Linked DNA regions of Homo sapiens: all the other regions are linked to region 4. Evidence: promoter capture Hi-C in 16 types of primary human blood cells and fetal thymus (Javierre and others, 2016). All regions are on one chromosome and are shown on one strand. Each heading gives the region's core, a stretch centred on a gene start or on the middle of the fragment in contact. The rest is flanking DNA. Distances are from core to core; before and after follow the strand shown.

What was found. The method cuts DNA at HindIII sites, captures the fragments that hold promoters and counts their contacts. A CHiCAGO score of 5 or more calls a contact.
Region 1: a contact is called between a fragment that was not itself captured here and the fragment with the promoter of ZFX-AS1 in region 4, in 2 of 17 cell types (naive CD8 T cells and activated CD4 T cells). The highest score is 6.4, in naive CD8 T cells.
Region 2: a fragment that was not itself captured here is called in contact with the fragment with the promoter of ZFX-AS1 in region 4 in 14 of 17 cell types (total CD4 T cells, total B cells, naive CD8 T cells and 11 more); the score reaches 13.5 in total CD4 T cells.
Region 3: a fragment that was not itself captured here is called in contact with the fragment with the promoter of ZFX-AS1 in region 4 in 2 of 17 cell types (total B cells and naive CD8 T cells); the score reaches 6.1 in total B cells.
Region 5: a contact is called between a fragment that was not itself captured here and the fragment with the promoter of ZFX-AS1 in region 4, in 7 of 17 cell types (naive CD8 T cells, activated CD4 T cells, fetal thymus and 4 more). The highest score is 10.8, in naive CD8 T cells.

Annotation. Positions count from the first base shown.
Region 1 is chrX:23,949,402-23,953,984 of GRCh38, reverse strand. No RefSeq gene overlaps it. Among named protein-coding and RNA genes, the nearest start is that of CXorf58, 44 kb to the right of the region's middle. RefSeq lists enhancers at 316-853, 854-1,392. The HindIII fragment of the contact is 8,514 bases long and covers 1-4,583 here.
Region 2 is chrX:23,911,318-23,916,356 of GRCh38, reverse strand. It overlaps CXorf58 (chromosome X open reading frame 58), which reads right to left. Exons shown (of 9, transcript NM_152761.3): 3 at 4,501-4,600; 4 at 563-657; 5 at 29-140. Among named protein-coding and RNA genes, the nearest start is that of CXorf58, 5.8 kb to the right of the region's middle. The HindIII fragment of the contact is 3,954 bases long and covers 972-4,925 here.
Region 3 is chrX:23,987,141-23,991,987 of GRCh38, reverse strand. KLHL15 (kelch like family member 15) reads left to right here. Exons shown (of 4, transcript NM_030624.3): 4 at 2,958-4,847. The coding sequence ends at 4,067. Among named protein-coding and RNA genes, the nearest start is that of KLHL15, 38 kb to the left of the region's middle. The HindIII fragment of the contact is 912 bases long and covers 2,810-3,721 here.
Region 4 is chrX:24,147,669-24,152,008 of GRCh38, reverse strand. ZFX-AS1 (ZFX antisense RNA 1) reads left to right here and starts at 2,355. Exons shown (of 3, transcript NR_046657.1): 1 at 2,355-2,454; 2 at 3,167-3,256. ZFX (zinc finger protein X-linked) reads right to left here and starts at 2,280. Exons shown (of 10, transcript NM_003410.4): 1 at 2,215-2,280; 2 at 209-318. RefSeq lists silencers at 1,274-1,783, 1,834-1,883, 1,904-2,313, 2,374-2,733 and enhancers at 1,824-2,637, 2,844-2,943. The HindIII fragment of the contact is 5,789 bases long and covers 545-4,340 here.
Region 5 is chrX:23,930,418-23,935,091 of GRCh38, reverse strand. All of the region lies in intron 6 of CXorf58 (chromosome X open reading frame 58), which reads right to left. Among named protein-coding and RNA genes, the nearest start is that of CXorf58, 25 kb to the right of the region's middle. The HindIII fragment of the contact is 463 bases long and covers 2,811-3,273 here.

The DNA.
Region 1 (4,583 bases), core at 2,051-4,550, 200 kb after region 4:
GTAAATTACTGTTAATTATACTATAGACATTCAGTCTTCACCATTCTTAACCTTCTCATAATACAAGTTGGGAAATATTCCCTCCTCTTCAATTTTCTGGAATAGTTTCTGTAAAATTGGTGCTAAAACTCATAGAATTTTAAAACTGAAAGACACCCTCGAAATCACCCAGTACTGACTGGAACCTTGATTTGACTATAAAGACAACAGAGACCCCATTTTTTCTCTCCAGGTAGCCAAAATCAATGGTAGATTTCTATACGTTGGAGGATTAAAAAAGGAATAAAATGACTATTCTTAACACAGTGTACAAAGAAGGCAGTCTGTTCAGAAATAGCTGAAAAGCCATTTCCTAACAAAGTTGACATTCTCTGTCTTCACTGCACTATAAAAACAAGAAACGACAAATGAATTCAAATGTTGAGGAAAGAATGAACCAGAAACAGGGTCTTCTGGTTTTCCCCAGAAGCCTATCCTGAGGCAAGCATTCCACTCTAAGTACAATAATTATTTAGAAGGTGCAAAACCAAAACAAACCAAAAAGAAACCGCCACAGTAGAATGGGGAAGTTACCGGGGAAGTAAGAAAGGCAAGGCAGCCAATAAAGGATGTATTACTAAGTCAGTTACCGCTGTGGGTTCCTGGAACTTACTGGTGCTGGGGACATTCTGAGAACCAGTACAAAACACACACATACACCTCGGTTATTCCACCCAGGGCAGAAAGAGCTGAGATATTTATACATCAACTTCTCTCAGGCATTGAGTGAGAGCAACCAGAGGGGCATTCATTCCCTGGCACTTCCGGCCTGCTTGCATAAGCACCAGTGGCAGTGGGCTCCAGCAACAGGAGAATGCCCTAAACAAAGAAGTCCATGAGCTGGTAAGTTAGAAGTCAAGCTGTGTGCTCGGAAGTGGTAAAGGTGAGAGGATAAAGGCAGCCCACTTACACACAGTATGTGTCACAGCAGGGTAGGAGAATTACCTTAACACATGAGAGAAATTATCTTCCGAAGGAGGATTTCTATGATTTTAGCAGGAAAATGTGAATGTTGTGATTTATTTCAAGATTACTTAAATTATAGAATATTTCTGGGGGTGTGTTTCTCAAAAATATTCCTTTGAGGTTGTGCCTTCAGAAATAATCTGTGAAGACAAAAGGAGAGTGGCAAGGTACAGTCTTTGCATAGAGTATTTCTATCCACTTTAAATTCATGCAAACTTAAATATCGTCATTTTATTCTATTTATTTTAGCATGTTAAAAGAATTACATTAATTTATTTGTGCTAAATGAGAAGGTACCCTCAATGAGAAAAAAAGGTAATGGGTTGCATGCTGAGAATAACCTATGGATTAATATTTAAAGTTTCTCAAGAGATGATGTAATAATAAAATCCCTGGGACAGATAGTATAATGGCATTAGTCATAGATTTCCGGAAATGCTAATCCAACGTCTTTTAACACTGGAGGTGTTTTATTCATAGAAATCTGTAATAATTATTGATCCAAAATATGCTTAGGTTGTATTTGATTCTTTCTTAATAGCCTATGATGGAACTGTATAATTTTTGGTATTTATTTTTTTCACTCTGGTCCATAACCACCATATCTTGATATTTTTCCCTTTTAGAAGTTTCTCATAGCTCTGCAAATGTTGGAGAATTTTGAAGAATATAATTTGACAGGTTAATTTGAATGCTAAAGATTGTCATAATTTAATATTACCAGGGAGAAATGAATATTCACTTTTCCAAAAATATAGAAGGAAATGACTTACTCTTGGAGAACTTTAAAAAATAATATGCATGAATATTTTAAACTTAATGTGATTTCTATGAATCATAGCCAATATAATACTGTAAATTTATAGATCAGGGTTGAAAATTTTTGGACTTTGGACGATCTTCACTCTTTCACATCTTCCTGGTCCAGAAATCTGAGCAACTCACCTTACTTACAAACAAAGACTTAATAGAGGTGAAGTAAGTTTTCATGTTTCTAAAACTTCATTAATTGTATAAACAGTATATACATTCACCAGTACATTATGAAAATAAGCTACAAAACAATTGTAACTTAAGCCACACTTAAAATACTTTAGCCAAATACTGTTTATGAAAAGGAAGCCTTGATGTTTGCTTTCAAGCAAATCAACATTTCTTCAAGTTGTCAATATTATTCTACAAATAATTAGCATTGGTTAGGGAGACTGTGTTATTGGTCCACCATAGGAAAAAGTGATAGAGAGTATCAGGTTATAGAATCTTATTATTCTGTGTCCTTTTCATTTTATTTTATTTTTATTTTTTTTGAGAGAGTCTCACTCTTGTCACCCAGGCTGGAGTGCTGTGGCACGATCTTGGCTCACTGCAACTTCTGCTTCCTGGGTTCAACCAATTTTCCTGCCTCAGCCTCCCAAGCAGCTGGGATTACAAGCACCCGCCACCATGCCTGGCTAATTTTTTTTTTTTTTTTTTTTTTTGTATTTTTAGTAGAGACAAGGTTTCACCATGTTCGCGAGGCTGGTCTCGATCCGCTGACCTCAGGTGATCCGTCCGCCTCGGCCTCCCAAAGTGTTGGGATTACAGGCTTGAGACACTGCACCCAGCCTTCGGTGTCCTTTTTAAACTTAAGGTTCTGATAATTTAGAAATATGTAGTAAAATTTATTCCTCTTCTTTTTAAAAATCCTTGATTGCTGAATTCCTGCAAATTGTTCCTACAAAATTTGTAATCATTGTCAGTGGTGCTTGGTCAATGCACCATTGTTAAAACCAGCCTTGAAAAATAGACAACCTTTTGTATACAAGTGGTTATGCAGTTAATAATTTCTTCAGAAAGGCACTGCTACACTATTTCTGTGCTATTATGAGGAGTCTCTTTGTCAGTTAATATGTATTTCACCCACACATTTTTTGAGCTATCTCCTGAGTTGATGACCAAGCTAATGGCATAGAGTAAACCGTAACAATTTGTCCCCCGAGAAGATCCTGTCAAGTTGCCTAAAATGATAAATGTCCTTAATAATTACTTCATATTTTTATCCTATTCAGGCATGTAGTAGATATTCAACATATATTTACTGAATTGGTATTTTTGTTGTTGTCACTGTTTTTAATAATAAAGAATTAGTCTCTTAAGGCCAGACACAGTGGCTCACACCTATAATCCCAATACCTTGGGAGGCTGAGGTGGCCCGATCGCTTGAGCTCAGGAGTTCAAGACCAGCCTGGGCAACATGGTGAAACCCTGCCTCTACGAAAAATACAAACATCAGCCGGGCATGGTGGCACAGCCTGTAGTTCCAGCTACTCGGGAGGCTGAGGTGGGAGGATTGCTTGAGCCTGAGAGGTGGAGGTTGCAGTGAGCCGAGATCATGCCACTGCACTCCAGCCTGGGCGACAGAGTGAGAACTTGTCTCAAAAAAAAAAAAAAAAAAGGAAGAAGAAGAAAAGAATGATTCTCTAGATCCAATTTACAGGAAATACAGAGGACAGAGTTACGTGTTAGCTACACCAAGGAATTCAATCAGCAAAGTCTAGATCATGGGAAATGTTACAGAATGAATGATCCAGTTTAATTAACAAATTGTAATGGGGGAGAAAAAAAGAGGTGGATAGGGAACCTACAGATTAAAAAGAAATAAAAACCATATAAAAAAAGAGGCAAAATTAAACTACATTGTGTATGGGTGCATGCTTAGGTGAGGAAACTATAAAAGAATGAGGTGATTACCATAAAAGCCAGGAGAATAGTTACTCTTAAGAGACGAGGTGCAGGGCCAGGTAGAGGGTTTCTGGGGTGGTCAGGTATGACTCTTTCTTCTGACGTGGATGGTAGTTACTAAGGTGTCTTGCCTTACAATAATGCATTCAACTGTAAAATCATTTTATATGATTTTCTATAGATGTGTTATACTTTTAAAAGTTTAATACACAACAAGAAATATATACATATATATGTTTTCAAATTACCAACATGACGTCACAACAGTTGGCAAGAGATGTCTAGTAGCACATCACTCTACAGCATTTCCACCATACAGATACAATAGATATAAATAGAATCGGCCGGGCACAGTGGCTCACACCTGTAATTCCAGCACTTTGGGAGGCCGAGGCAGGCACATCACAAGGTCAGGAGTTCGAGACCAGCCTGGCCGATATAGTGAAACTCCGTCTCTGCTAAAAATACAAAAATTAGCCGGGCGTGGTGGTGGGTGCCTGTAGTCCTAGCTTTTCAGGAGGCTGAGGCAGGAGAATCGCTTGAACCCGAGAGGGGGAGGTTGCAGTGAGGCGAGATCACACCATTGCACTCCAGCCTGGGCAACAAGAGCGAAACTCCATCTCAAAAAAAAAATAGAATCAAGAACTCATATCATAGAATGTAAAATGTAGAATCATTAGAATGATTCTCCTTAAATAATAATTAAAATAATTAGAAGCGATACTTTTTGAGAAGTTTTACCTGTGATTTTAATACAGGTTACCTAAGTAAACTATACAATTACGAGTTTATACAATTCATTTTTTTTTCTTTTTGAGACAGTGTCTGGCTCTGTCACTCAAGCTGGAGTGCAGTGG
Region 2 (5,039 bases), core at 1,699-4,198, 240 kb after region 4:
ACATAAAATGTACATCATGAAACGTCACCTTACTTGACGGCATTAATACATTTTTTCCACTAAAATACTTGTAACCATGGCCATCAGTATGAAGAAAAATTTTAAACACGATGAAAGGTGGAAACGTTTCACCTCTAAATCTGAAATAAAGATAAAAATTTAGTTATTTGGCATCAGGTTTTGGGCTCAGTTGCTTTTCCCCCTTATACTTAAGATAGTTCATATAGTTTCTTGCATACAGGGTAAAGGCTATGTCAGAGCATGTAAAGAATTGGTAATGAAATGGATCACATAGGATGTAAGACCCACACTTTGGTGTACTCACAACTATTCTCATACCTGTGTAAGACTGAATACAGAATGGGAGATGAGAGCTACTCTCATGGCAACTTTTAGCCACAGAGTCATGCCTCGGTTTCTTCACATAACAAATGTAAATAAGAATAACACATTTACTTTGTAATTAAGTTCTGAGAAGTTACAAGAATTTAAAAAATCCATATCTAAGATTTCCTCATATTAACTAAGTACTTCTTGAAATAAATCAGCATAGATACATTACCTGAATCTAATTTTACACTGCATAGTAGGATCCTTAATAAGCTTAGCCTCTAAGGGGGCCACTTTCTTCAGTATTTCATGTGTTACATAGAATTCCTGAAATAAAGGACAGTGCTGTAAAAGGAAAGCAGTATCCCACCCAGACACAATTTATGGACTATAACAGAGGCAACGTGGTAAAGTGAACATTATGCTGGACTTGGAGTTCTGAAGGGGTGGGTTTTTGTTTTGGCACCTCCACTTACTATCTGTGTAGCCTTGAGCCAGTTACTTAATCATTTTGGCCTCCAACTTTGGTTATCTGTCCCTTTTAGAGATCAAAGGCACTATTATTTCCCTATGACAGCACTTTTCACAATATATTATAATTACTTATCAACTTGTCTGTGCCTCCTACTAGACTGTAAGCTTCATGAAGGTAGGGATGGTGGCTTTTCTCTTTACCACTATATTCCTAGCATCTAATACAGTGCCTGGAACACAGCAGATGCTTAAGAAGTATTTGTTGAATGAATCACTGTAAGATGAGGATGATAATAGTAATAAGTTACTAGCTTTTAAGCACCTTTTATGTACCATATACTACTATGTTAGGTGCCTTATATACATTAGCTCATTTAATCCTTACATCAGCAACACTATGAGAATTTTTTGTTTGTTTTGAGACAGAGTCTCGCTCCGTCGCCCAGGCTCGAGTGCGGTGGCATGATCTCGGCTCACTGCAACCTCCGCCTCCCAGGTTCAAGCGATTCTCCTGCCTCAGCCTCCCGAGTAGCTGGGACTACAGGCACCTGCCACCACGCCCGGCTAATTTTGTATTTTTTCAGTAGAGACGGGGTTTCACCATATTGGCCAGGCTGGCCTGGAACTCCTGACCTTGTGAGCCGCACGCCTCAGCCTCCCAAAGTGCTGGGATTACAGGTGTGAGCCACCACTCAGGCTGCAGTGCAATGGCATGATCTCGGCTCACCGCAACCTCCACCTCCCAGGTTCAAGTGATTCTCCTGCTCAGCCTCCTGAGTAGCTGGAATTACAGGCATGCGCCACCATGCCTGGCTAATTTTGTATTTTTAATAGAGATGGGGTTTCTTCATGTTGGTCAGGCTGGTCTCGAGCTCCCGACTTCAGGTGATCCACCCGCCTCAGCCTCCCAAAGTGCTGGGATTACAGGCGTGAGCCACTGCACCTGGCCCATTATGAGAATATTATCACGCCTATTTTACAGATGAGAAGGCTGAGGCTCAGGGAATTTTTGTAATTTATAAAAAGGCATACAGGTAGTGAATGGGGAAGCCAGGATTCATTTAGTTCTGTTTGACTCTAAAGTCCCAACTCTTTCCCCCAAACAACCCCAACCAACCCCGTTATGCCTATGATAATCACATAAAAATGTACACTAAAGAGCTTTTAGGCTGGGCACTGCGGCTCACGCCTATAATCCTGGCACTTTGGGAGGCCAAAGCGGGAGGATCACCTGAGGTCAAGAGTTCGAGACCAACCTGGTCAACATGGTGAAACCCCATCTCTACTAAAAATACAAAAATTAGCCAGGCGTGATGGCAGGCGCCTGTAGTCCAAGCTATTTGGGAGGCTGAAGCAGGAGAATCGCTTGAACCCGGGAGGCAGAGGTTGCAGTGAGCCGAGATCGTGCCACTGCACTCCAGCCTGGGTGACAGAGCAAGACTCTGTCTCAAAATAAATAAATAAATAGCTTTTAAAAGGACAAAGCATTATTAATTTAAGGTATTAAAGTATTACTATAACAGATAAAAAAGAATTTCCTTCTGTTACAAAAGTCTAAAAATACTATGAAACCAGCATTATAAAATTAAATACAAGTTCCATATTCAAAGACAATGGATAATAGACCTGAAATGCCAGGAGTTTACCTGGGTGGGTTTTCTCTGAAGTATTCAGACGGAGTCTTGCTCTGTCGCCCAGGCTGGAGTGCAGTGGCTCAAACTCGGCTCACTATAACCTCCACCTCCCCGGTTCAAGGTAGCTGGGATTACAGGCGCACACCACCATGCCCGGCTAATTTTTTTGTATTTTTAGTAGAGACGGGGTTTCACCATGTTGACCGGACTGGTCTCGAACTCCTGACCTCAGGCAATCCACCCGCCTCGGCCTCCTAAAGATCCCAGCTCACGCTGGGATTACAGGTGTGAGCCACTGTGCCCAGCCGTATTCTGCTTTTACTGACATCAGAAATAGGTCTGTGGGTCAGATGGTGAACGGTGTATACATTGCTCAGACTTTATTATTTTTTTCAGAGCTGCTAAAATTCCCTTAAGAGTATCACTAATTGGCCGGGTGTGGTGGCTCACGCCTGTAATCCCAGCACTTTGGGAGGCCAAGGAGGGTGGATCACCTGAGGTCAGGAGTTTGAGACCAGCCTGGCTAACATGGTGAAACCCTGTCTCTACTAAAAGTACAAAAAAAAAAAAATTAGCTGGGCATGGCGGCACGCACCTGTAGTCCCAGCTACTAGGGAGGCGGAGGCAGGATAATCACTTGAACCTGGGTGGTGGAGGTTGCAGTGAGCCAAGATCATGCCACTGCACTCCAGCCTGGGCAACAGAGTGAGACTTCATCTCAAAAAAGAAAAGAAAAAAAAGAGTATCACTAATAATAGACTACTGGATTTATAGGTTGTTTTATTAGAATATTTGGTACTATGCCAAGGAAGGCTCTGCTAGGGTTGCCAGAGTTGCTTTCTGGAGGAGGGGGGATATGCACCTTTTTTTTTTGGTTTTGGTTTTCACTCAAGTAGGATCATGCTCTTCATACTGTCTGGTGCTTGCTTTTTTAACTGATGAGCTATCTTCATTTCCTTTCTATTGCAGAATCATGTTAAAGCTGCAAAGTTTAACACTATAAAAGCAGCAACACTTATTTAACCAGCATCATATCAATAGATATTATACAGTTTACTCCCTTTGCTGTTACAAACAACGGTGCAATCAAATTGTGTATGTATTGTAGAACAGATTCTTAGAAGTAAAATTGCTGGATAAAAGGTAAGGGAACTTTTAATTCAGAGCTTTTTGAAGGGGGACAGAGTCTCACTGTCGCCCAGGCTGGAATGTAGTGGCGCAATCTCCGCTCACCATAACCTCCACCTCCTGGGTTCAAGCAATTCTCCTGCCTCAGCCTCCCAAGTAGCTGTGACTACAGGCTCATGCCACCACGCCTGGCTATTTTTTTGTATTTTAGTAGAGACAGGGTTTCTCAATGTTGGCCAAACTGGTCTCGAACTCCTGGCCCTCCCTGCCTTGGCCTCCCAAAGTGCTGGGATTACAGGCGTGAGATGCTGCACCTTGCAGATTCGGAGCTTTTTATTGTTGGAAGAGAACTGTCTCACATTTTCAAATAAGGAATCAAATTTAAAAACAAAACAAGGCAAGCAGTATATTAATTTCAGAAAAAAGTAATAGTCATCCACATTTTAAAAAATCCAGAAATACTCATCTAGGGCTAACAGAAGAAACAATTCCAGAACTCCACGTGATATTATTAGATCCAAATAGAAGAGATAAAGAAAGGGCCGGGCGTGGTGGCTCACGCCTGTAATCCCAGCACTTTGGGAGGCCAAGGCAGGCAGATCACGAGGTCAGGAGATCGAGATCATCCTGGCTAACATGGTGAAACCCCATCGCTACTAAAAATACAAAACATTAGCCAGGCATGGTGACAGGTGCCTGTAGTCCCAGCTACTTGGGAGGCTGAAGCAGAAGAATCGCTTGAACCTGGGAGGCAGAGGTTGCAGTGAGCCAAGATTGTGCCACTGCACTCCAGCCTGGGTGAAAGAGCCAGACTCCCTCTCAAAAAAAAAAAAAAAAGAGGAGATAAAGAAGGTTATCTATTCGATCTTTAATTAATAGATCTTTTAGCTTGATAATTAAATCCCTCAGAGAAAAAAATAAGCAAAATACATACCGCTGCACAAATTGCGTGTTTTAGGAGTCGAAATATCATTTTGTTTGTATGAGATAACCAAGCCCTCTGTATTATTTGAGCTGAAATGTCTTTAAGCATTCTGAGAGAAAAAAAGAGGTTAATATTTATAAAGTAGTTTTCATTTTCCTAAAACCTTAGAGAACTATCAATTTATGCTTCCTCCTCCTGTACCTCCCCATCCCCCACTCTAAGACTGACCTAATGAGGAACATTTGGATGTGGTAATTGGAAGTGGTCATTTGCAGAATCTACTCAGAATGAGGATATGAAATACTTGAGGAGATTTCCCTTGAGATTAAAAAAAAAAGTCCTGGCCAAAACTTTGTCATCAAAAGGCATATAAAATATAAATATATCATTAAGAGGCATGTATATTATAAATAAAAAGTATGAGGAGACAAGCTTACTTCCCAAAAACATTCACGACCTAAAATGAAACGTCCAACTAGTTCAAGTGCTATGAAAATGGAATGGGGAATAGTCAAAGTTACAGGAGGCCCAGTTCTCTTCTGGGGGTG
Region 3 (4,847 bases), core at 2,016-4,515, 160 kb after region 4:
GTATTGCCCTTCAGCTCCTACAACTCAATAAGAAAAAGATGAGAAAAATCGGTAAGGCACACTATTAGGCAATTTATAGAAGAAATGAATGGAAAATACTCAGTTTTGTTTTTTGTTTGTTTTTTTCAGGTTTTTGTTGTTGTTTTTTCGAGATGGAGTCTTGCTCTGTCACCCAGGTTGGAATGCAGTGGCATGATCTCAGTTCACTGCAACCTCCGCCTCCCAGGTTCAAGTGATTCTACTACCTCAGCCTCCCAGTAGCCGGGATTACAGGCAGGCACTGCCACGCCTGGCTAATTTTTGTATTTTTAGTAGAGATGGGGTTTCACCATGTTGGCCAGGCTGGTCTCGAACTCCTGACCTTGTGATCCGCCTGCCTCGGCCTGTCAAAGTGCTGGGATCACAGGCATGAGCCACCGCGCCCAGCCTGGTTTTGGTTTGTTTGTTTGTTTGTTTGTTTGTTTTTGGAGATAAGAGTTTCGCTGTTGTTGCCCAGGCTGCAGTGCAATGGCATGATCTTGGCTCACTGTAACCTCCACCTCCCGGGTTCAAGCGATTCTTCTACTTCAGCCTCCCAAGTAGCTGGGGTTACAGGCATGCACCACCACACCTGGGCTTTTTTTTTTTTTTTTTTGAGACAGAGTTTTGTTCTTATTACCCAGGCTGGAGTGCAATGGCGCAATCTCAGCTCACTACAACCTCTGCCTCCCAGGTTCAAGTGATTTTCCTGCCTCAGCCTCTTGAGTAGCTGGAGTTACATGTACCTGCCACCATGTCCAGCTAAATTTTGTATTTTTAGTAGAGACGGGGTTTCACCATGTTGGCTAGGCTGGTCTTGAACTCCTGAGCTCAGGTAATCTGCCCGCCTCAGCCTCCCAAAGTGCTGAGATTACAGGCATGAGCCACCGTGCCTGGCCAATGTTAGTTTTCTCTCTTATGTAGTTGGACGAGGGGTTCTCAGCCTTTTTTGTGCTATTTACCCCTTTGCTGATGTTGTGAAGCCCATGGAAGGACCCCTTCTCAAAATAATGATTTTAATGATAAAATGCCTGACATTACAAAGGAAACCAGTTATACTGAATACAGTTTTCAAAATACTTAAATTTGTGACGTTTTTTGTTTTGACCACTGTTTTGGACTAAGGCAAGGAATTAGTGAATGGGCTAAAGAAAGAAAGATAGGAAGGAGGAAAGGAAAGAGAGGAGAAGGAAGGGGGGGGAGGAAGCTCATAAATATATACACCTGGTTTTGACTTCCCTCCCAAACTGTCATCCCAGATTTCCAACAGGCTCTTAGACATTTCCGCCTCAGAACCCTATCAAGGAAGTTGAATACCTCTCCCAAACCAGCTCATCTTCCCTGCTTTCCCTATTGATATCAACACTCTTTCCATCACCTCAAGTCTAAATGCTCAAATCACATTTGAGTCCTCATTCTTTCACCCTATTTCAAATCAGTCATGGTTGTCTGTAGATGTTATCTCTACGCTATCTAATTCCTGTTACCCAAATTTAAGACCCTCTTATCCTTGTCTTATTATGACAAAGGATTTTTCTGCTTGGTCCCCTACTTCTTATATCTTCCACAAAGTATCTCTTGAATGTCTTGGGCCAGTTTAGTATAATCTTTATCTCTAATTCTGCCACACTCACAGATGTGCTGTTTGGCTTCATACCTAATTGTCACCTGACTCATTTACCTATTGGTAAATTTGTATTTGTTTCCACTTTCCCAAATACATTCTAGGTTCTTTAAGGAAACGGATCACATCTTACGCTTATTTTTGTTTCTCCCTATAGCACTTAGGACAATACTTAAAAGTGCTTTATTTTTATTTTATTTTATTAATTTTGTAGAGATGAGGTCTTGCTTTGTTTGCCCAGGCTGGTCTCAAGTGATCCTCCCACCTTGGCCTCCCTAAGTGCTTGGACAACAGGCATGAGCCACTGCACCTGGCCAAAAATGCTTTATATAAATCTTGGTAGTCATCATAATTAGGTAGCTCCAGCTCCAGAAGCAAAAAGGAAAATGTTTGCCAGGCGCAGTGACTCACACCTGTCATCCCAGCAGCTCAGGAGGCTGAGGCAGGAGGATCGCTTGAGGCCAGGAGTTCAAGACCAGCCTGGGCAACAGAGCAAGACCCCATCTCTAAAAATATATAGTAATAATAATTTTAAAATAAAATTTTAAAAATTAAAGGAAAAAGTTTGACCTGATATCTACTGAATTCTTACAGGAGTTATCAGACCAAGTCTTTATGTCAAAACCCCGAAATTTTACATGTATTTAAATTTTCACTAACTTAACTCCCCAAATGATTCAGTCACAGCTTTATGATGTTACTTGTGGTTAAGAAAACTGTGGATATGGTTTCCTCTACTGTGAAGCCCTGTACTTGTCCTCATACCCGCTACTTGTAGCCCAGGGCTTCACATAATAGGTGCCTAATTATTTGTTTACTCTTAAAAGCTTGGGAATGTACATAGATCATTATAAATTAAGAAAACATAGGAGGCCCAGTGCAGTGGCTCACGCCTGTAATCCCAGCACTTTGGGAGGCTGAGGCGGGTGGATCACAAGGTCAGGAGTTCAAGACCAGCCTGGTCAAGATGATGAAACCTCATCTCTACTAAAAATAAAAAAATTAGCTGGGCGCGTGGTGGCAGGCGCCTCAGGAGGCTGAGGCAGAGAAGTGCTTGAACCTGGGAGGCGGAGCTTGCGGTGAGCTGAGTCCATGCAACTGCACTCCAGCCTGGGCAACAGAGTGAGACTCCATCTCCAAAAAAAAAAAAAAGATTTTTTAAAAGCTTTGTAGAAAACAAAAGAAAGTAGGTGATCTTAGCAGGAAAAGCAGTTTTAGTAAAGTGAGCCTAAGATGATCGTATTAGTCAGCTTTGATAATTTGTTTGCAGCTGATGCTTTTTCCTTTGGTTAAATTCTTTTTCTTGTGTTCTTAGGTTAAGACATCAGAATTTTATAGATACTCCCGACAGCTCCGTTACGAAGTTGACCAAGCATTGAATTACTTTCAGAATGTTCACCAGCAGCCTTTGTTGGATATGAAGTCAAGCCGCATCCGTTCTGCAAAACCGCAAACTACAGTATTTCGAGGAATGATTGGACATAGCATGGTTAACAGTAAAATACTTCTCTTAAAGAAACCAAGAGTCTGGTGGGAGCTAGAAGGCCCACAAGTACCTCTGCGACCTGACTGCCTTGCTATCGTCAATAATTTTGTGTTCCTGTTAGGCGGGGAAGAGCTGGGCCCGGATGGTGAATTCCATGCTTCTTCCAAAGTATTCAGGTATGACCCGAGACAGAACTCCTGGCTGCAGATGGCAGATATGTCTGTACCACGCTCTGAATTTGCTGTAGGTGTTATTGGGAAGTTTATTTACGCCGTAGCAGGCAGAACCAGAGATGAGACTTTCTATTCAACTGAGAGATATGACATCACCAACGATAAATGGGAATTTGTGGATCCTTATCCAGTTAACAAATATGGACATGAGGGGACAGTGCTCAATAACAAATTGTTTATCACCGGTGGAATCACCTCATCTTCCACCTCCAAGCAAGTGTGCGTGTTTGACCCCAGCAAAGAAGGGACCATAGAACAACGGACCAGGAGAACTCAAGTGGTTACCAACTGTTGGGAGAATAAGAGCAAGATGAATTACGCGAGATGCTTTCACAAGATGATTTCTTACAATGGCAAGCTTTATGTCTTCGGTGGTGTCTGTGTGATCTTGAGGGCCTCTTTCGAATCTCAGGGATGCCCTTCTACAGAAGTATACAACCCAGAGACTGATCAGTGGACCATCTTGGCATCCATGCCGATTGGTAGAAGTGGCCATGGTGTGACTGTGCTGGACAAACAAATAATGGTTCTTGGAGGCCTTTGTTATAATGGTCATTACAGCGATTCCATCCTCACTTTTGATCCGGATGAAAACAAGTGGAAGGAAGATGAGTACCCTCGGATGCCCTGCAAGCTGGATGGTTTACAAGTATGCAACCTGCATTTTCCGGACTATGTACTGGATGAGGTCAGGCGTTGCAACTAATGACATCCTCCTCCCTAAAAAAAGAGGCAAACAAAGTATTTGTTTGCACAGAGTAATTAATTAAAACATATAAAGAAAAACCTCACCAGTTTTACTATCAAAGCCATTGGTCTAACATTGTAAGAATTTTTCATTCTGTGCTAGCATCCTTTTTTTCTTTTCAGTGGCCTCAAACTCATGCAATAAGTTAATTCTAAGTGCTAGCTCTTGAAACTACTTCCAGAAGCAGTTGAATAGAATGCTCCACTTATCTGGGATATTGATTTTCTGCTTTAAACATTTCTTTCAGATGTTAGCGTAGGAGTCATGTGTCTTCTAAGAGAAGACCCGATAAGTGTCACTGGATGTGATTTCAGTCTCTGTCTCTATCTGAAACCTTTTTGAAGATTTATTTCAGTGTATTTCAGTCTGTTATACTTTTTAGTTTTATTATTTAAAAGTTTAAAACTCTTGACCTTTTTGCATGGCTTTTTGCTGAAAATGCAAAAATATAAATTTTCTACAAAATTAACTTTTTATATTCAAAACACTATTTCTAAGCTGCCTTCTCTTATCCGCATTGTGTTAGTGAAAGCATATTCATACTCGCATACAACCTATAAATACACAAGGCACATCCCTTTTATGCGTGGTTAGGATTCTATATTTTTAAGCTAGTGCACTTACTTGCACACACAGTTCGCCATACTTGTTGAATTTTAGATGTAACGTCTTTTCACATATTAACATTTTTAGAAAGTTGAAATAACTGGAGTCCTCATTTGCTATCAAAGTAGCCTA
Region 4 (4,340 bases), core at 1,106-3,605:
TGAGCAAAAGATTATTTCGGATGAGAAATCAGGATAGAAAAAAGGAGCAGCTGTCTTAATAGAGACGCATCGTTCCAAAAGTAGCAAAATTTGCTTAACTTCTGAACATTCTTGTAATCGTTCTGATAATGAAAACACTGATCAACTTACTACTCTCATTATTTTTCAACTTTGAAACTTTTCCTAGTCCAATGGAACTACTAAGTACCGTAAAGCACAGCTCAGGGAACAGACGGCAGTGACAGGCGGGCAGTGGGAGGCGGGAGAACGGCTTGAGCCCAGGAGTTCGAGACCAGCCTGGGGCAATATAGCAAGAACCTGTCTCAAAATAAAAAATAAGTAAATAACAAGGTGCAGCTCAGGTGTGCCATCACTCTTCTAGTTGAGGGCACCCCCGCTGCCTACCCCATTGAGTATAAGCCCCTCCACCTGGCAAGCAAGCCCTTCTGCAATCTAACTTTTCTAGCCTGAATTCCCACCACTCCCCTACCTATACCATCCACTTTTGCCAAACTGTAAATACTTACTGTTTACTGAAGAAGCTTCACCCTTGAAACGTCCTTTCTCCACCTCCACCTCTACCTAACAAAGTCCTACCCATCCCTCGGTAACCTTCTCAAAATGCCACCTATTAATACTTCAGGAACCCGTCCCTCCCTGATCCTCCAATGGCAACCTTGCTTCCCTCGGAAATCCCAGTAATTAGTTGTACCTCTCACTTTACTGCATTTCACCTTGCCCCACCTACCTCTAAACATGAGACTTCTTGCAGCCACCGTCTGCATTACAAGAACCTTTTTAATGTTTCTTAGCATCTAGCACGGTGCATCGCTAACAGTAGGCTCCGAGTTTATCAAGAAAGTTGCACAGTGTGCAATCAAAAAAGTACGTTAGGGGATGAAACTCCGCCTTAAAACTTCACAAATGAAAAATCGAAATACCATGACAGGCAAATGCACAATAAATATGCACCACACTAAGTTGTCCTCCAATAAGAAAATAAAAAAGTCTGCCCTTATTCCTCGATTTAAAAAAATACCACCAACAGATCACTACTTAAATCGTTTTTCAAGAAAGTTGTTTCCACATAAATGAGTACGAATGATTCAAAATTTTATTCCTCCGCTCTCGTGTTGTGCAATTTTTTTCCCTATAGGACAAAAGAATGGCAAAAACTTTCCCATCAATCTTTATTTTTCTTCCTTTATTCAGATACTCGGGGCGGCAAAGATTGTTGGAAAAACAACTGCATCGAAAGCACCTTAGCAGCCACATATGATTTGACTTAAGCAAAAATAACATTTCCTGGGGTCCCGTATGCCCTGGTAAGCCCAGGTGTCCGGAATGCCACCTGCCCCGACTGCCCTCGGGTGGCTACAGGCGCGGGGGAAGGCGCAGGGCCAGGGGCGCTGAGGGTGAAACGGTCCCGGCGTCCGGGCGGCGGCGGTGGCCGCCTGCGGCAGCTCAGCTGAAACGCAGCGGAAACTGCAGCCAGTCACGGGGCTGCGGGAGGCAAGGCAGGAAGGTGGCGCTGCCGCCGAGCGCCTGGAGCCCGAGCGCTCATCATGGCGGCAAGGGCAATGGCCGCCACGGGGAGCGAGCACGCCCCTCCGCGCGCACACGCCGCCGCGCCGGGCCTCCGGGGCCCGTCACCGGCGCCGCTGCCGCCGCCGCCCGCTCTCCCACCCCCCCTCACGGGCTGTAGCGGAATTTTCTCTCCAGACACCGCCTCCAAGATGGCGGCTCCCCCTCCCGGCAACCCCCTCTATCGTCCCCTGCAGCAGGCGCCGAGCCGCCGCCATCTTGTCCCCCGTCCCTCCCCCCCCCTCACCGATATTTACATAGCGAAAATCGGCCCGGCCGGCCTGCGGCCTTCACCTCACGCCTGCAGCCTTCGCCTCCTCGCCAGGCCTCACCCCGGCGCGGTGCCCCAGGTCGGCCGCGGAGCCGACCCGGGGCCCCTCGACCGCCTCCGGCACAACCGGGCGACCCTCCCCCAACCCCCGCCCGCTTACGGAGCGCGCCTCCGCCGCCGCTCGGGGCAGCCGGGCTCCTCCCCGGGCCTAACTGCGGCCTCCTCGGGGCCTGCTCGGCGCCGCGCGCCACGCCGCCCGGCCTAGCGCGGGAGGGCGCCTTGCGGGCCGCCGACCAGGCCGAGACCAGGCCGCTGTGCGCGCACTAGGCCCCGCGGCCGCGGCGGCACCCGGGACTCACCGGACGGACGTGCGGGCGGCCGGCGACGGTGGCGGGTGCTGCAGGCCGGCCTTTCTCTGGAGCACTGGGCCGGGCTCCGGCTGGTGGGGCGGGCGGAGGGAGGGAGGAGGGGCCGAGCTCGGAGCTGACAAAAAGCGGCCCAGCTCCCCGGCACGGGCCCGCCGTCAGCACGTCACGTCACCGCCCGGGAGAGAGACCCAGGAAAATGCGGAAGGGTAGACAGGCCCCCTCCTCCGCCCGGTGGGTCCTCCTGGCACCCCGTGTCGGCGCCGCTCCCGCCCCGCGACCGGGGAGCCCAGTGGCCTCGCTGCGGCGGGGTCTCCGGCGGCCGGAGTCTCCGTGACAGCGCCCCCCTTCTTTCCACCTCCTCCGCGCTCCCGCCCGCCGCCGCCACACACGCGCCGCTGCCGCCGCCGCCTCGGCCGTAAAGCCCGCGCGGGGCCGCGGTCGGCCGACCCCGCGGAGAGGCAGGCGGCCCGGCCGCCCCCCACCATGTCCCGTGGGCCGCGGCCGCCCCCCGGGGGCCTCCCTGGAGACCTACCGCCTCTCGCGCCGGTCCTGGCCGAGGCTCCAGCTCGAGTTGTTTGCAGGCCCTCAGACCCCCGCCCGCAGTAAATGTGTTTTCTTCATCCCCGTGGCTGGGGAGGAAGATAAATTTAGCAACCCCCGCCGTCCCCTGCCTTCGCTTAAAAAAAAAAAATCTTTGAAATAAAATGAAAACGGGCTTGCCAGTCTAAATGGGTGTGCGGGAAGGGGGGTGGAGTGGGGGGAGAAGGGTTATCCCTAGAGCACCTACCAGGCCGTCTACTTTTTAAAAATAAGCAGTCAGAGCCAAACTGATTTTATTAGTTTGTACGGGGGAGGGAGATGAGCAAAGTTGCATTTTGAAACGTTTCGCACGTTGCAAAGAACAGGAATTTTCTGTGTATTTTCCTATGTACCCGTGTTTCAGAGCTTGGGAGCCTGTGAAATGTAAGACTGGTGTCATCGTTTCATAAATCATGAATTTTCCACATTCCTTAATAGAGAGGAGCCCAATTGGGTATGGATTTTTTTTTTTTTAAACACACTGCTTAAACAAGCCTTTTGAAGTTTCAAAAGACTTGGGAGAGAAGGGGAAAATGATTAAACAGCACTTACCAACTTCAAAAATGTGTATTTCGCACTTTACTTAGTTTAAATGTTTATGCTATCTTTCCATGCTGAACTTGGAACCCAAACTCTGTTTTAAAGTTACTAGGGAAAAGTTAAATAGTGGAGTCTTTACATTAATCTGGAATCTGGCATGCTATCCTTTAACACAGCACTAAATGTTAAAGGCATTTTTAAACAATAAGAAACACAAAAATTATAAAGCAAATAGTATACTGGTGTGAAATCTCTTTAAATACAGAGGCCACGTATTTTAGTTGCCTGACATAACTCTTTAAAACTCCCAGAATGCAATTTGTCCCTTCCCTCAGACATCTCTCAATCACAAATGCTTTCAAAAAGGAAAAACAAAAGTAGAGTAAGAAGAAATCTCTGAGCATGCACTGGATGATAATTTTCCTCTCGGGGCTTTAGTCTGAATTTTTCCAAGCGATTAAATTTCCTTTCAAAAATAGTAACAGCATGTATTCATTGTTTATAAAAATTACATCAGGCTGTGATAGACTTTCACAGAAAGACATTTCACAGAAAGGTAAATGAAACTAAGCAATGTTGTTTCAATAAAAAAAAATGAGAAATAGCTTGTGTGCCCACATTAATATTTCTTGCACTCCCAGACTGGAGTGCAATGGCGTGATCTTGGCTCACTGAACCTCTGCCTTCGGGGTTCAAGCGATTCTCCTGCCTCAGCCTCCCGAGTAGCTGGGATTACAGGCACTTGCCACCACGCCTGGCTAATTTTTCTATTTTTTTAGTAGAGATGGGGTTTCACCATGTTGGCCAGGCTGGTCTCCAACTCCTGACCTCAGGTAATCCACCCGCCTCGGCCTCCCAAAGTGCTGGGATTACAGGCGTGAGCCACCGTGCCCGGCCGCCCACATTAATATTTCAAAACATTGATAATCAGCGTTTAAGTACTTTCCAAGGGCCTCAGTGTGATGCTACGGTATGGCAAGAATGGAGGCCAGGTTCCC
Region 5 (4,674 bases), core at 1,793-4,292, 220 kb after region 4:
GAGTTCGTAGACCAGCCTGGCCAACATGGTGAAAACCCATCTCTACTAAAAATACAAAAATTAGCCAGGCGTGGTGGCTTGTGCCTGTGGTTCCAGCTACTCGGGAGGCTCAGGCAGGAGAATTGCTTGAACTCGGGAGGCGGAGGTTGCGGTGAGCCAAGATCGCGCCACTGCACTCCAGCCTGGGTGACAGAGTGACTCCATCTCAAAGAGAAAAAAAAAGAAAAGAAAAGAAAAAGAGAAAAAAAACAATTAAGACTGATTAGTTGGCCAGGTGCGGTGGCTCACACCTGTAAGCCCAGCACTTTGGGAGCCTGAGGCAGGTGGGTCACTTGAGGTCGGGAGTTCGAGACCAGCCTGGCCAACATGGTGAAACCTGATAGCATTAGGAGACATACCTAATGTAAATGACGAGTTAATGGGTGCAGCACACCAACACGGCACATGTATACATATGTAACAAACCTGCACGTTGTGCACATGTACCCTAGAACTTAAAGTATAATAATAAAAAAATACAAAAATTAGCTGGGCGTGGTGGCGCACACCTGTAGTCCCAGCTACTTGGGAGGCTGAGGCAGGAGGATCACCTGAGCCCAAGAGGCAGCAGTTGCAGTGAGCCAAGACTGCACCACTGCACTCCAGCCGGGGCAACAGAGTGGGACTCTGTCTCAAAAAAAAAATTGATTGGTTGTGGGTGCTCTAAAATGTTTTTAGACACATTTCTCATGGTTCCACTCAAATGTCACTTCATCCAAAAGGCATTCTTTGATCCCATCTCTGAATTTTATTGGGATCTCTCTCTGACTACTCAATGTTTTAGTTATCTGTGTATGACTTAGCTCCCTTATTGGAAGGCAGGAGCTATGCTACACATTATCATGCACACAGTATCATACTCACTAAATATTTATTTAATGCATCAACATTTTTATGGCAAATATAACTCAGATAAGTTAAACTCAGATGGGCCTAAAAATTAATGATAATAGCTATGTGTTCTGCATACCTAGTAGAGCTTGTTCATGACATGCTTGGGTTGAGAGGACTTTTTTTTTTTTGAGACAGGGTCTCATCCTGTCACCCAGGCTGGAGGGCAGTGACATGATCATGGCTAGCGGCCTCAACCTCCTGGGCTCCAGTGATCCTCCTGAGTAGCTGGGACTACAGGTACATGCCACCACGTCTGGCTATTTTTTTTTTTTTTGGGGGGGACGGAGTTTCACTCCTGTTGCCCAGGCTGCAGTTCAGTGACACGATCTCGGCTCACTGCAACCTCCGCCTCCTGGGTTCAAGCGATTCTCCTGCCTCAGCTGGGATTACAGGTGCATGCCACCATGCCTGGTTAATTTTTTTTGTATTTTTAGTAGAGATGGGGTTTCACCATGTTGGCCAAGCTGGTCTTGAACTCCTGACCTCAGGTAATCCACTTACCTCGGCCTCCCAAAGTGCTGAGATTACAGGCGTGAGCCATCACGCCTGGCCAATTTTTTAATCTTTGTAGAGATAGGGTCTCACTATGTTGCCCAGGCTGTTGAGAGGACTTTTGCACAAACCTTTTTAGAAATATGAGTTCATCTCTAGTATGAAGTGGAGATTTTCACTATTTTCCTTTGGAGTATTTGTAGAAATCCCACTTTTCTTTTTTTCCAATTTAAAATGATATCAAATTAGGAATTAAAAATACAAATATATATCATCACTTTAACATTATAGTCGTGCATTTAAGAGCCAGGGATAGGGCAGGAGGAGCTACAGTGCTAGGAAACAGAATAACAAGAAGGCCTTTAGGGTATATTACACAGTCACATTCATGCTTTCAAACACACACACACAGATGCACATACACACTCTCAACACACACCTTCACACTCACATATACACATACACACTCACACACATACACACACACAGGCAATCCTACCTTTGCACCATTTCATCTTTTTTTTTTTCCTTTTCTGGAGAATGGGGTCTCGCTGTGTTGCCCAGGCAGGTCTCAAACTCCTGGGCTCAAGCAATCCTCCGGCCTCTGCCTCACCAAGTGTTAGGATTACAGACATGAGCCACTGCACCCGGCCTTTTCAAACTTTTTTTTTTGAGATGGAGTCTTGCTTTATCGCCCAGGCTGGAGTGCAGCGGCGCAATCTCGGCTCACTGCAACCTCCACCTCCTGGGTTCAAGCGATTCTCCTGCCTCAGCCTCCCAAGTAGCTGGGATTATAGGCGTGTGCCACCAGGCCCGGCTAATTTTTGTATTTTTAGTAGAGACAGGGTTTCATCATGTTGGCCAGGCTGGTCTCGAACTCCTGACCTCAAGTGATCCACCCACCTTGGCCTCCCAAAGTGCTGGGATTACAGGCATGAGCCACCACGCCCGGCCTCCTGTTGCTAGCTCTTCAGCTCAAAGATCACAATATAAATGACAGATGATCATCATGATTAGTGACAAATCATGTCATACCTTCCAAAGTCAATCAGTGACTGGTCACTGTGAATCTGTTATTCATTTCACACACAAACAGCAACGTATATAGTTGTGTTGCATTTTTGTCTCCCAATGATAAACCCATGTGACATTTTACAAAAATGGAAAATCAAAAGAGGGAATTCCCCGTCAAAGAAACAAAAAGTGGTACCCCTTGAAGTGAAATTGGAATCAATCATACATGGAGTTCTAGAAGAAACAGGTGACTGTGGGAATGCTAACACTGCCATCATTCAAGACGTTGCAGATCTACAGCTAGAGGAACTTGGTGAGGATGAACTTATCAACATAAATGAGGAAAGTGGCTATGATAAAAAGATGAAGCTTTCCCAGTGGAAGTGATGCTGGCCAAAAAAAACTTCATACTGAAGGAACTCTGAGATATTTTGCAACATTTAAAGTGCAAAGAATAAAATGTTGGCAGCTGATCCAAATTTTAAAAGGAATATGACAATACATCAAGACATAGAAAAGATGCTTATAAGTTATACTAGAAGAACAAGAAGGCAAGCACTGTTTAAAGTACTCTTGGTAAGTTATTTTTTCACAGCTTTATTGAGGTTCACATACCATACAATTCACCATTTAAAGTGTACAATTCAATAGTTTCCAGTATATTCACAGTTGGTAAGATATTTTATGAAGAAACTAAACACTTTGTCTATGTTTCTAATGTTTTAAATTATAGTGTACTAAAAGTGTTCTAAATGTGTTGGGTTTTTTTCTTTCATTTTCCTATGTATTTATAACAGACAGCAAAAGAGTTTTTAATGTTTTGACAAAGAAGCTTGTTTTGTTTTGTTTTCAGAGATGGGGTCTCACTATGTTGCCTGGGCTACCCTCAAACTCCTGGGCTTAAGTGATCCTCTTGCCTCAGCCTCCCAAGTAGCTGGGACTACAGACAAAAAGTTTGAAAAGTCACAGGACAATCACAATTTTCCCCACAAATTATTAAGTTTGCTTTGCATGGTTTCAATTTGCTGGTCATTTTTATGGTCCTGCACTGCCATGCAAAGTAAGGCTGGGTATTTTTTTTCCTGAGTGAAGTAGTAAAATGGGTAAATATCATAGATCTGTCAATCATCTGCTCTGCCACTTATCAGATCTGTCTGTGACCTCAGGCAAGTTTTTTTGAGGCTTGTTAAACTTCATTTTTCTCATTTGTAAAAAAGGTCACAGAATTTACAAACTTGAAGATGAAAGAAGATAACACACATGTAAAGTGCTAAAGACAGTGCCACACCCGTATAAGGACTCAAACGTCAACAATGATCTTATCTCTCTCTTCCAGTATGTCTATCTGGGGACTCCTCTCTATGACATTAATCCTTGACATGTTCACAATCTGAAAGTATGTGGTCTTTGTCCTTAGCAAAGATAGTTGGCATTTCCTGGTTCACTTCCCTAAACTCACAGTCTAAGACTCTAAAAGAAAGAAAACATAATTGGGAGTCTCTAAGGCACTGCATTAATTTCATGTTTCACACTGAAGCAAATGAGTGAATAGTTAAGGCTGTATACAGACATATCTCAGAGATATTGTGGGTCTAGTTGCAGACCATGGTAATAAAGTGGATATCACAAATAGAGTCATGCTAATTTTTGGTTTCCCAGTGCATATAAAAGTTATGTTTACATTATACTGTAGTTTAAGTGTGCAACAGCATTATTTAAAAAAAAATGTACATACTTTAATTTAAAAATACTTTGTTATGGCTGGGCATAATGGCTCATGCCTGCAATGCCAGAACTTACGGAGGAAGAGCTGACAGGATCACTTGTGCCCAGAAGTTCGAGACCAGCCTAGGAAACATAGCAAGATCCCATCTCCACAAAAAGAAAAAAAATACTTTATTGCTAAAAAATGCTAATGATCATCTGAGCCTTCAGTGAGTCCTATTCTTTTTGCTGGTAGAGAGTCTTACCTTGATGTGGATGACTGCTGACTGATCAGGGTACTGGTTGCTGAAGACTGGGGTGGCTGTGGCTTTTTTTTTTTTTTTTGAGACAGGGTCTCACTCTGTTGCCCAGGCTGGAGTGCAATCATGGCTAAAGCAATCCTCCCACCTCAGTCTCCTGAGTAGCTGGGACCATAGGGGCATACCATCACACCTGGCTAATTTTGGGGTGGGGGGTAATTTTTGTAGAGACAGGGTCTCCCTATATTGCCCAGGCTGGTCTCAAACTCCA